3 separate regions of the Homo sapiens genome follow, and all the other regions are linked to region 1. The links are contacts of gene promoters, found by promoter capture Hi-C in human tissues and cell types (Jung and others, 2019). All regions are on one chromosome and are shown on one strand. Each heading gives the region's core, a stretch centred on a gene start or on the middle of the fragment in contact. The rest is flanking DNA. Distances are from core to core; before and after follow the strand shown.

The links. The method cuts DNA at HindIII sites, captures the fragments that hold promoters and counts their contacts. A contact is called where the count stands out against the background at its distance.
Region 2: a fragment that was not itself captured here is called in contact with the fragment with the promoter of SYT8 in region 1 in 11 of the 25 tissues and cell types used here (H1 embryonic stem cells, IMR-90 fibroblasts, aorta and 8 more).
Region 3: the fragment with the promoter of TNNT3 here is called in contact with the fragment with the promoter of SYT8 in region 1 in 2 of the 25 tissues and cell types used here (lymphoblastoid cells and spleen).

What each region holds. Positions count from the first base shown.
Region 1 is chr11:1,833,039-1,836,239 of GRCh38, forward strand. SYT8 (synaptotagmin 8) reads left to right here and starts at 1,952. Exons shown (of 8, transcript NM_001394072.1): 1 at 1,952-2,161; 2 at 2,258-2,421; 3 at 2,848-2,946; 4 at 3,088-3,201. The coding sequence starts at 2,068. RefSeq lists enhancers at 1-528, 529-1,142. The HindIII fragment of the contact is 28,273 bases long and covers 1-3,201 here.
Region 2 is chr11:1,899,349-1,902,408 of GRCh38, forward strand. All of the region lies in intron 1 of LINC01150 (long intergenic non-protein coding RNA 1150), which reads left to right. It also overlaps a transcript of PRR33 not described here. Among named protein-coding and RNA genes, the nearest start is that of LINC01150, 4.1 kb to the left of the region's middle. The HindIII fragment of the contact is 4,546 bases long and covers 1-3,060 here.
Region 3 is chr11:1,918,325-1,921,644 of GRCh38, forward strand. TNNT3 (troponin T3, fast skeletal type) reads left to right here and starts at 1,379. Exons shown (of 16, transcript NM_006757.4): 1 at 1,379-1,438. The HindIII fragment of the contact is 33,765 bases long and covers 1-3,320 here.

The DNA of each region.
Region 1 (3,201 bases), core at 702-3,201:
AGCATGTATACAGGCTCTGACATTTCAAAAAGAGAAGTTGCCTTGAAACTCCACGTAGGGAGGAGGCAGTGGCCTGTTTGAATCTGGCCGGCACAGTCCCGCTCCAGGGACCCTGCGGACCCAGCCCATTCCATCAGCCACCACCAGTAGGAGCGCTCCGCCAGCCACGTGTGGGACGCCGGACCCACCTGGGAGTGTCCCCCAGGAGCTGAGGGGCTGCCGAGGCCCGTGAGCTTCACTGCACACCCACACTGCATCTGCAGGGGACTCACCCAAAGGGTCCCCCGAACTCGACAAGCTCCGTCATTTGTGAGGCCCAGTGCAGAATGAAAATGTGCAGCATCTTGTTCCAAAATTAAGAATTTCAAGATGGCCCCAGCACGCATTAAACCAAGCAGGGACCCCTCTGAGCATGGGGCCCTGCGCACAGGGTGCAGCCTGGAAAGCTGGCCCTGACCTCCGCATCTCCTTTTTGTACCTATAATCCCTCCATTGTGCTGGCCCCTGTGTTCTGGGGACAGGCTGGGCTTCCCAGGCCATGCTGGCCTCCAGAGCCACAAAACTAGAGCTCCCAGCCTCGGTCCACTCGTCTGTAAAACACCTGGCCTGCTGACCTCACAGGGTCAACATGCGTGTGGGGCTGGAACCTGGACCCTCCCTCCCCTCCTTGAGCTGCAGCCCCCTCATCTGAACACTGGGGGTTTGGGTCCGTTCTGGGAGTGCAGCTGCCTCTCCCAGCCTGCCAGGGAGTGGGGCATTGATGCTGTGTGCGCGTGCGTGTGTGTGTGTGTGTGTGTGTGTGTGTGTGTGTGTGTGTGTGTGTGTCTGGAGTCATGGCAGGGTCCCTTTCTGTCTGTCTCCTTGCTCTGCCCCAGACTGGGGGGCTGCAGAGGTGAGGGTATCTGGCCTCAACAGCTGCTTATTCCCGATGGGATGGCCTGGGCTGGGCCCCTGAGGCCAGGCTGACTTGGACATGGCAAGAGGGGTCCCAGGCTCTTGTGGGCAAAGCAGGGGAGGCGCCAATGTGGAGGAACAGAGTCTCCTGGCTGGCTGCTGCTCTCTGGAGCGGGTGGAGTCAGGGAAGAGCTGAGCTGGGGAGTCACCCTGGGCCTGGGGTCACCGTAGGCCCCATGTAGCACCCTGGTTCCCCTGCCTGTAGGTGACAGGAGCCAGCCCAGCCAGGTGTGCTCCCTCCCCAGGCCCTAGGCAGGCGGGTACAGGGGCCAGCAGCTGCGCCCGCCCCACCTTCCTTCCCACCCACATGCCGAAGGGTGGCCAGGCAGGCAGGTGGACGAGTCCAGGCAGCGGCTGAGTCAGTGTGTGTGGAATGTTCTGGCCGCTCCCAGCTGCACCCTGCCCCTACCTGCCACCACCTCACCTTCATCCTCAGGCGCTGCGGCCCTGAGCCCCTGCCAGGAATGCACCTTTAGCCCAGGCCTGCTCAGTGAGCTCCGCCGACAGCCAGCCCTGCTCCTCCCGCCATGACCCTGCAGACCCCTCTGGGCTTCCAAGTTCCTGGGGGCTGCAGTGAACATGCTCCACCTGCATGGCTGGCAAACCATGGTGGGCCCCAGCTGTGGTGCGTGCTGGGGTAGAGGCAAGGAAGTGATGGGACCGCAGAGATGAGACCCCCAGGGATGAGATGGGACCCCCAGGCAGGGCCCAGGGTCCAGGGCCCAGGAGAGAGAAGCAGGGAGGGAGAGAGCTTCCTGGTGGAGGACGCATCCTACAGTGGGGGCAAGGGTGCTCTGAGGTCCGGTGAAGGCAGGGACTAGGCTGCCCAGGCCCTGCCTGCTTGGCTGGGGCTGGGGGCTGCTGGGAGGTGGCTGGGAGGCTGGGCCTGGGCAGCTAAGCTGGAGCTTTGGCCAGGGTCCAGAGCCTCCCTCCCTTCAGCTTCCTGCTGCACAGAACCCTCGCCCCTGGCCACCCCGTGCTGCCTCCTTGCCCTGGCAGACCCAGCACTGGCTGCTGCTAGTCAGATGGGGTAGCGGGCAGGGGCCGGAGGGGCCACCCTCCCAGCTGACCCAGCCTCCTGGGCCGCTTCTTCCAAACCAGCAGGGTAGAAAGATGGGGCACCCACCAGTCTCTCCCAGTGCCCCGGCCCCAGCTGGCACCACAGCTATACCTGGGCTTATTCCAGACCTTGTCGCCGGGACCCCCTGTGAGTTGTGGGATTCCCAAGAGGGGTGTGGGGATAACCCAGCCAAGTGGGGGCTGCAGCTGTCCACAGATGCACTCAGCCTGGCCTCTACCCCAGGGCCCCGCTGGGCTCTCATTGCCGGCGCCCTTGCCGCGGGCGTCCTCCTCGTCTCCTGCCTCCTCTGTGCTGCCTGCTGCTGCTGCCGCCGCCACAGGAAGAAGCCCAGGGACAAGGAGTCCGTGGGTCTGGGCAGTGCCCGCGGCACCACCACCACCCACCTGGTGAGGAGCGGCTCCTTGCTCACTCAGTCCAGAGAGGGCTTGAAATCCAGGCTCCAGAGCCCAGGGCAGCGAGGCGAGTTCAGCCCCAGGGATGGTTTAACCCCCACAGAGGCAGGGCGTTGAGGACCTTCCTGGCAGGGAAAGTGGGTGAACAGAGGTGAGAAGGAGGCCATGCAACAGGGGCTGCCCCATGGGCCCGAGGGAGCCACAGCGGGTTCTTGAGGAAGGCAGGGGGTACCCCAGATGCCACGTTTTGGGTGGGTTTGGCCGGTCTCACAGAGCGAAGCCGACGATTTGTGCCTGTTGGGTGGCCTGGCCTGGAGGCGGGGGGTCTTGACCCATGTCATGCAAGGGCTGCCCGGGAGCCCAGGGCTCTGATGAGGCATGATGTCAGCACCACCTGCCCCTTGTCCCAACTCACTCCAGGTGCAACCTGATGTGGATGGCCTGGAGTCCAGCCCGGGGGATGCTCAGCAATGGGGGTGCCTGCAGCTCTCCCTGGAGTTCGACTTTGGAAGCCAGGAGGTGAAGGGCCCCGCTGCGCAGGACCAGCGGTTCTGCGAGTTTCCGGAAAGGGTGACGGGGGAAGGGCAGACCCCATGCCCTGGGTGGTGGGGAGCTGACAGGGCAGGGGCCCTTGGCTGAGCCCACCCCGCTGGCTCCCAGATCAGGGTGGGCCTGAGGCAGGCAGCCGACCTGAGGCCTGGGGGCACCGTGGACCCCTATGCCCGGGTCAGCGTCTCCACCCAGGCCGGACACAGACATGAGACAAAAGTGCAC
Region 2 (3,060 bases), core at 147-2,646, 66 kb after region 1:
TGGGTGGCAAGGGCAGTCTTTCTGTGATACTCTCAGAAAACCAAATGTCTGGGTTCTAGATTGTGAAGCGTTTGATAGGGTCCTCAGTGGACCATGAAAAGCTTTCTGTACCTGGTGAAAATATACTTAGGCATAATGCATTAAGGCCTAGGAGCCTTTAGCCATATCGGAGTTGAGGAGTGGAAGATACATGAGGTTCTATATAGGACTTCCAGGGACTATTTCATAAGGCACCAACTTATGTTTTCCACTGGAAATGGACCCGACGGCCATCCACCTGCAACACCCTTGACCAAGGCAGCCCAGTTCATTCATTTCCCTTGCTTAATATTATTGTATCTGTAACAAGTTATTAACAGTTTTACCACTTGAGCAGTGAAACAAGTACATCTATCATGGGAGATTTCTCAAGGGACGTCCCATGAGAAAAACAATTTTCTAATAATCTTTTAGCTACTGCTATAACATCAGTGCTCTTGCCTGGGAAAGCTTCTATATAACCAGAAAACACGCATTGAAAATGACAATTGAAGGAAATCCCTCCAGCAATGTTTCAATGGCCCATCAAGTAGCAGAAGTGTAATGGAAGTTTCGATTGTCCTCCCAGGATTATGGGTTTGGCAGACCAAACATTGGTCGTAAACCATTTTAACAACTTACAACGGTCACCATGTCAAATATATATATGTATATTATATATACATATATATATAAAATTTGGATTAATTTGTCTCTTCCATGATGAATCATGGAGTGCAGAGCATTTAATAGTGGAAGCTTCAAGGACACAGGAAGGACCAGGTGGCCATCTTGGCTGTCCATGTGTCCATGCTTGATGCTGGACTTATATCTTCTTAAATACCAATTTTGTTTCTCCAGTTCAGGTGCATAGCACTGTTTATTAGAAGGGTTATCATAGGTAATTTGACTTGGACGATGGATTTAATTCAAATTGGGTATCTAAACAATATCAGTACTGGCTGATTTAGCATGAAAAGCTGGCAAAGTGTTTTCTTGGTATTCAATTAATTTTTGTCCTGCCCAGGTTAGCAATTTTATAAACCAGTCAATCTTTCCATTAGAGTTCCGGGAATTTTTACCCAGTCCAAATGACATTACACTAAAGTTATCAGAAGCCTATTCAAGAGGGCTTATCAGGGTCCTTTCTCTCCTTTCACGAACCTCCTGGAGGACTCAATATTGTAGGACTGTGTGTGTTTGTGAGTTTTCAGAAACGTCAGAAAAAAGCAATTAACTCTGGAAATGACGTAAAATGGTCATGGTTAAAGAAGAACTGACAAGGAATTTTGATTACTTCTGTGGCCTACAATAACTTAACTGTAATTAAGAGTGACAGCATATACCCGGATGTATCAGAATTTTAGGAACCCCATACAATTTTGGAGCATATATTAATGACGTATTCACAAACAATATCTCAAATAAGGTTAAACATCATTTCTTATTTGGCAGTGCTTCCCATGTAATTTAATTTATCAAATACTTCTGTCTCTCTCTTTTTTGGATACTATAGGGGCCCTTAGTAGCTCTCTCCACTGGGAAAGGCTGTTATCGTCTTTGTTTTAAACTATAAACTAAGTTTCTCCCAAAGTTAGTTCAGCCTACTCCCAGGAATAAGCAAGGACAGGAATAAGCAAGGAGGTTAGAAGCAAGATGGAAGGGCCAGGCACGGTGGCTTACGCCTGTAACCCCATCACTTTGGGAGGCCGAGGTGAGCAGATCACAAGGTCAGGAGTTCCAGACCAGCCTGGCCAATATGGTGAAACCTCATCTCTACTAAAAAAAATACAAAATTAGTCGGGCGTTGTGGCAGATGCCTGTAATCCCAGTTACTTGGGAGGCTGAGGCAGGAGAATCGCTTGAACCCAGGAGGCAGAGGTTGTGGTGAGCCAAGTTTACGCCATTGCACTCCAGCCTGGGCGACAAGAGCAAAACACCACCTCTAAAAAAAAAAAAAGGCAAGATGGAGTCAATTAAGTTAGATGTCTCTCACCGTCTCAGTCAAAGAGACAATGCAAAGGTGGTTTCAGCTTTTTCCTAAATATTATCAGATACATGTCATACAGAGAGACATATAGTCATAACAGACACAGATAGAAACAGATCTTACAGATTTCAGAAAGAATTTTCATTTGCCAGCTTTCAAATAGTTTTCTTTTCCCCCTTTAGACTATCAATCTTCTAATTACTTGTTTTATCATCCTAAGCAATCGTTAGCTAGGGAACAATTTGCCTTCAAAAAAGATAACTCTTAGGTGAAACAAGGCAGAAAATGTATATATGAAAAGCTATTTAAGCTGAGACTTTCAGCTTAAATACTGTACCATCATCATTTGCTCAACCAAGAAAAAAGCAAGGCCCAGTGAAGACAACATGGCCAGGAAAAACACGTTAAACAAAGGTAAGACTTGTTACGTAAATTTAAAACAAAGGGATGTCCCTCCCAGACGTTGCAAATGGAAATGTCTTGTGGAGATGTAAATTTCTTTCACAAAATGGTTTCAAGGTAGCCGTTGAATGTCAGAAAGGTGCATTTTAGTTATTAGGCTGGTTGAAAAGTAATTGCAAAAACCACAATTATGGCCGGGCGCGGTGGCTCACGCCTGTAATCCCAGCACTTTGGGAGGCCGAGGCGGGTGGATCATGAGGTCAGGAGATCGAGACCATCCTGGCTAACATGGTGAGATCCCGTCTCTACTAAAAATACAAAAAGTTAGCCGGGCGTGGTGGCGGGCGCCTGTAGTCCCAGCTACTCGGGAGGCTGAGGCAGGAGAATGGTCTGAACCCGGGAGGCGGAGCTTGCAGTGAGCAGAGATCGCGCCACTGCACTCCAGCCTGGGCGACAGAGTGAGACTCTATCTCAAAAAAAAAAAAAAAACACACAATTACTTTCACACCAACCTGTGGATAGGTGGTCCTTCTAATGTGGCTACTGCTTCTTAGCTGAAATTACTGAGTACAGGGTGGGACCCATTAAGGAATAAGGCAAAGAAAGGCTTCCCTCGGCCTGGGCTCAGCGTGGGTGGATCTGAAGTAAAG
Region 3 (3,320 bases), core at 129-2,628, 85 kb after region 1:
CCTTTGAAATGGCAGCCTGGGGCCAGCCCGCCTTGTCGTGTGACCCCAGGCACACCTTGCCTGTCCCTGGGCTCTGCGGCCTCGCTCTTCCATGGAGGGGTGGAATGAGGTGCCAACCACAGCCTTCCGGAAGGCCCCCGACCCGGCCCCAGGGCACTGTGAGCCCCTGCCGGGTTATCCTGTTGTCCCTGACTCTAAGCCTGGGGAGGACAGGGACCTCATCTGTGCCTCTCGGGACTCACCCCTGTCCTGGGCGCTGGCCAAGAAGGAACCAATCTGTGCCTGAACCGAAGAGTTCCGCAGACACCACCGCCCACGCTCAGCCTGTGGGGTCTGAGGGGAGTGAGGGGGTGGGTCAGGGTGCCAGACTGCTCTCCCCCACCTGGTGCCTCAGTTTCCCTGATCCAAGAGGCAGGGTTATCCAATCTGGTGGCCTCACTGGCCAGCATACAGGCCATCAGAGGCCAGGAAGGATGTCTGCTAGTCGGACGGTGCCACCTGGAGTCCTGAGGAAAGAAAACCAGTCTCCACACGCCACAATGAGCCTGTGGGAGATGCTGGCACAGATGGTAACGGCCACTGCGAGTGCCCAGGGTGGGGCCCCAGGGTTAGAAAGGGCCTAGAGGGAGGACCCAGACCCTTACCCAGCAAACTCCATGTGTAGCCCCCTGCAATGGCAGCAGCCCCGGGGGGAGGTATGGCAGACTCGGACTGCAGCCAGCCTGGCCATGTCCCTCGCCCGCTTATTGTGTAGGCCCCAACGGTGTCTAGCCAGGAAAGCAGAGCTGGCCTCTAAGAGGGTCTCAGATAGGGTGGGGGCCTGGCCTCAGTTCCATGGGGGGTCTCCGAGGCCTCAGGCTGCTTCCTCCCCGGGGGAGACAGCGAAGGGCCTGGGGCATTGGGCCGGGCGGCGGGAGGGGACCCCGGCTGTGCGGACCCTTTTCCTGGACAAATGTTTACTCCCACAGAACATCTCAGAGAGAAGGGGCGGGGGGGTGGGAAACCCGGCAGCCTGGCTCTGGGGACCCCCACACTAGTTTGGCCCAAAGAGAGCCTCGGCTTGGTGCCCCGGGGCCACCCAACACCTTCCTCCTCCCTCCTCAGCCCATCCAGAATGTACCCGCTGCTGGGAGTAAAAATAGCAGCTGACACCTCCTGGAGGCGGAGGGAGGACCTTGCCTCCTTCTCCAAGCACGTCCTCTGCATCCTGGCCTCCTTCAGCCTCCTCCTCTGGCCATTCCTATACTTGGTAAGGGGCCTGCACGGGCATAGCCCCCCCCAGCAAGACTCCGCACACACCCCGGCCACCCAGTCACTGGCCAATGGGCTCCTAGGAAGATCAAATGTCACTATAACACGAGGGTGTGAGCCGGGCGCCAGTGCCTGCAGCCGGTGCTGTCCACAGGGAGCTCCAGCCCTTCTCACACTCGACCCGCAGGTGGGTATAGGCAGGAGCGGCCACCCAGGACTGGGGCCGACGGGGCCTCCTGCGTGCGGGTGGACAGCCCCTCGTTCCAGGGACACTCTGGGGTCCTGGGGCGCTGAGGTCCCAGGTCCGTGTGGTGCCGAGCATCTCGAAGCATCATGGCTCGGAGCCCCCAGGTGGCTGCTCCAGCGTCCGGAGAGTCTGGGATGCGGACATGGTGGTGTGATGGTCTCAGCACCGGGAGGATGCAGAAGAAGGCAGAGTGTGGGAGGCCAGGAGGGGGCAAGTCGGGGCTCAGGGAAGCTCAGTGCTAGGGAGTGGCCTGAGGGCAGGAGGCAGAGAGGTGCGGGCTGTGAGCGGCAGGGAAGAGGCTGTGCAGGGGTGCTGCCAGGGCTTAGGTTGCCAGCTTGTGGTCGCCATGCAGACATTTGCCCAGGCCCGTCCTGGCCTTGCCATGCAGCTCTCGCACCTGGGCCTCCAACACCGCCATTTTGTAGAGATGAAAACGAGGACAGGAGGGCAGGGGCTCCTGTATGGCCAGCCCGAGTGTGTTGGGGTGGGGGCGTCTAAAGCCCACGCAGCCTTGGGGGCCAGCGTCTGGAGGTGCAGGACAGAAGTGGACAGGGGCTGGACTGGGGCAGGACGGGGCAAGAGTGAGGGGCTGGGCTTCATCGCGTCCCCCTGGCTGGAGGCTGGAGAAGCTGGCGCTCGTAAGAGCCCCCACCCACCCTCCCTGCCCTGGACACGGTCCCCCTGACTTGTGCCGTCTGATCAGGCCTTGGCTGCCCCTCCTGAAGTCCACGGAGGGACATGGGGCAAAGCAAAGGTTGGCTGGGTGGAGAACAGGTCTGGGGGCATGGTCAGGGCCACAGCAAGCAAGGGGCAGCGGCTTTTGCCTCCCCACCCTGCCCTGGCCCCGTCACCTCCCAAGGAGGGAAAGGTGATGCATACGTGCCCGAAGAAACTGACCGCATAGGTTATTTTCACGCAGCCCCTCCAAGGCAGGCACTAACTGGACACCTGCTTTGCGTCTCAGCTGTTGAAATGCCATCCCCTGCCCCCAGCACACCCCTGCCCCCAGCACACCCCTGCCACCAGCCCCTCCCCGCAACAGAGGCAATGACACAGGCCATACTGGGGGGAACAGAACAGCCTTGTGTTGCTTCCAGGCGCTCAGCAGAAAACCAGGTGCCTCAGTTTCCCCACTTGGAGAGTGGGCCTTTCCAGCGCACGTCGGGGGGCCTGGAGGTCACCCTGCCTGAGGGTGTTGGGGCACCCATGTGACTCTGGCCTGGGGGGACAGGAGGGAAATATGAGGAGCTGGGGAGGGCCTGGGTGCCCGAGGGTGAGGGGGCAGCTGTGGGCCAAGGAGGGCTGGGCTGTCACACCCGCCTCACCCACGTCTTGGGTTTCTGGGCAGAAACGTCTTGCCTATTTCTGGACACCTCAGCTGCCACTGGCTCCTTATAAATAACCCACCCCAGGCGAGGGCCACGCTGCCCCCATCTTGTGGCAGCCGACAGGTGTCTGCCCCGCCAGCGTCGGGCTGGGCACAGCAGGGCGGGGCCAGGCTCCGCTCCCTCCCTTCACTGACCCTCCTCCTCCTTACAGAGGATGGCCCTAGAGGAGTCTGTGGCGTTTGGGGCCTGAACCAGCTGGGAGGACAGCACGAGGGGCTGGTGGGCAGCCTGGGACTGGGTCACACCGGGGGCCTGGACAACACTGGCTCGTGGGGCTGAGGACTGAGGAGAGCCTGGCCCAGCCGTGGCAGTTACAAGAGGCTTAACCTGAGGGGCAGCAGAGTCTCAGGAAGAGATTCTGGGATAGGAAAAAGCTACCCCCGTTGCCTGGAAGACAGCTATCTGCTGGGTAATTTTGCATGGAGCTTAAGTTG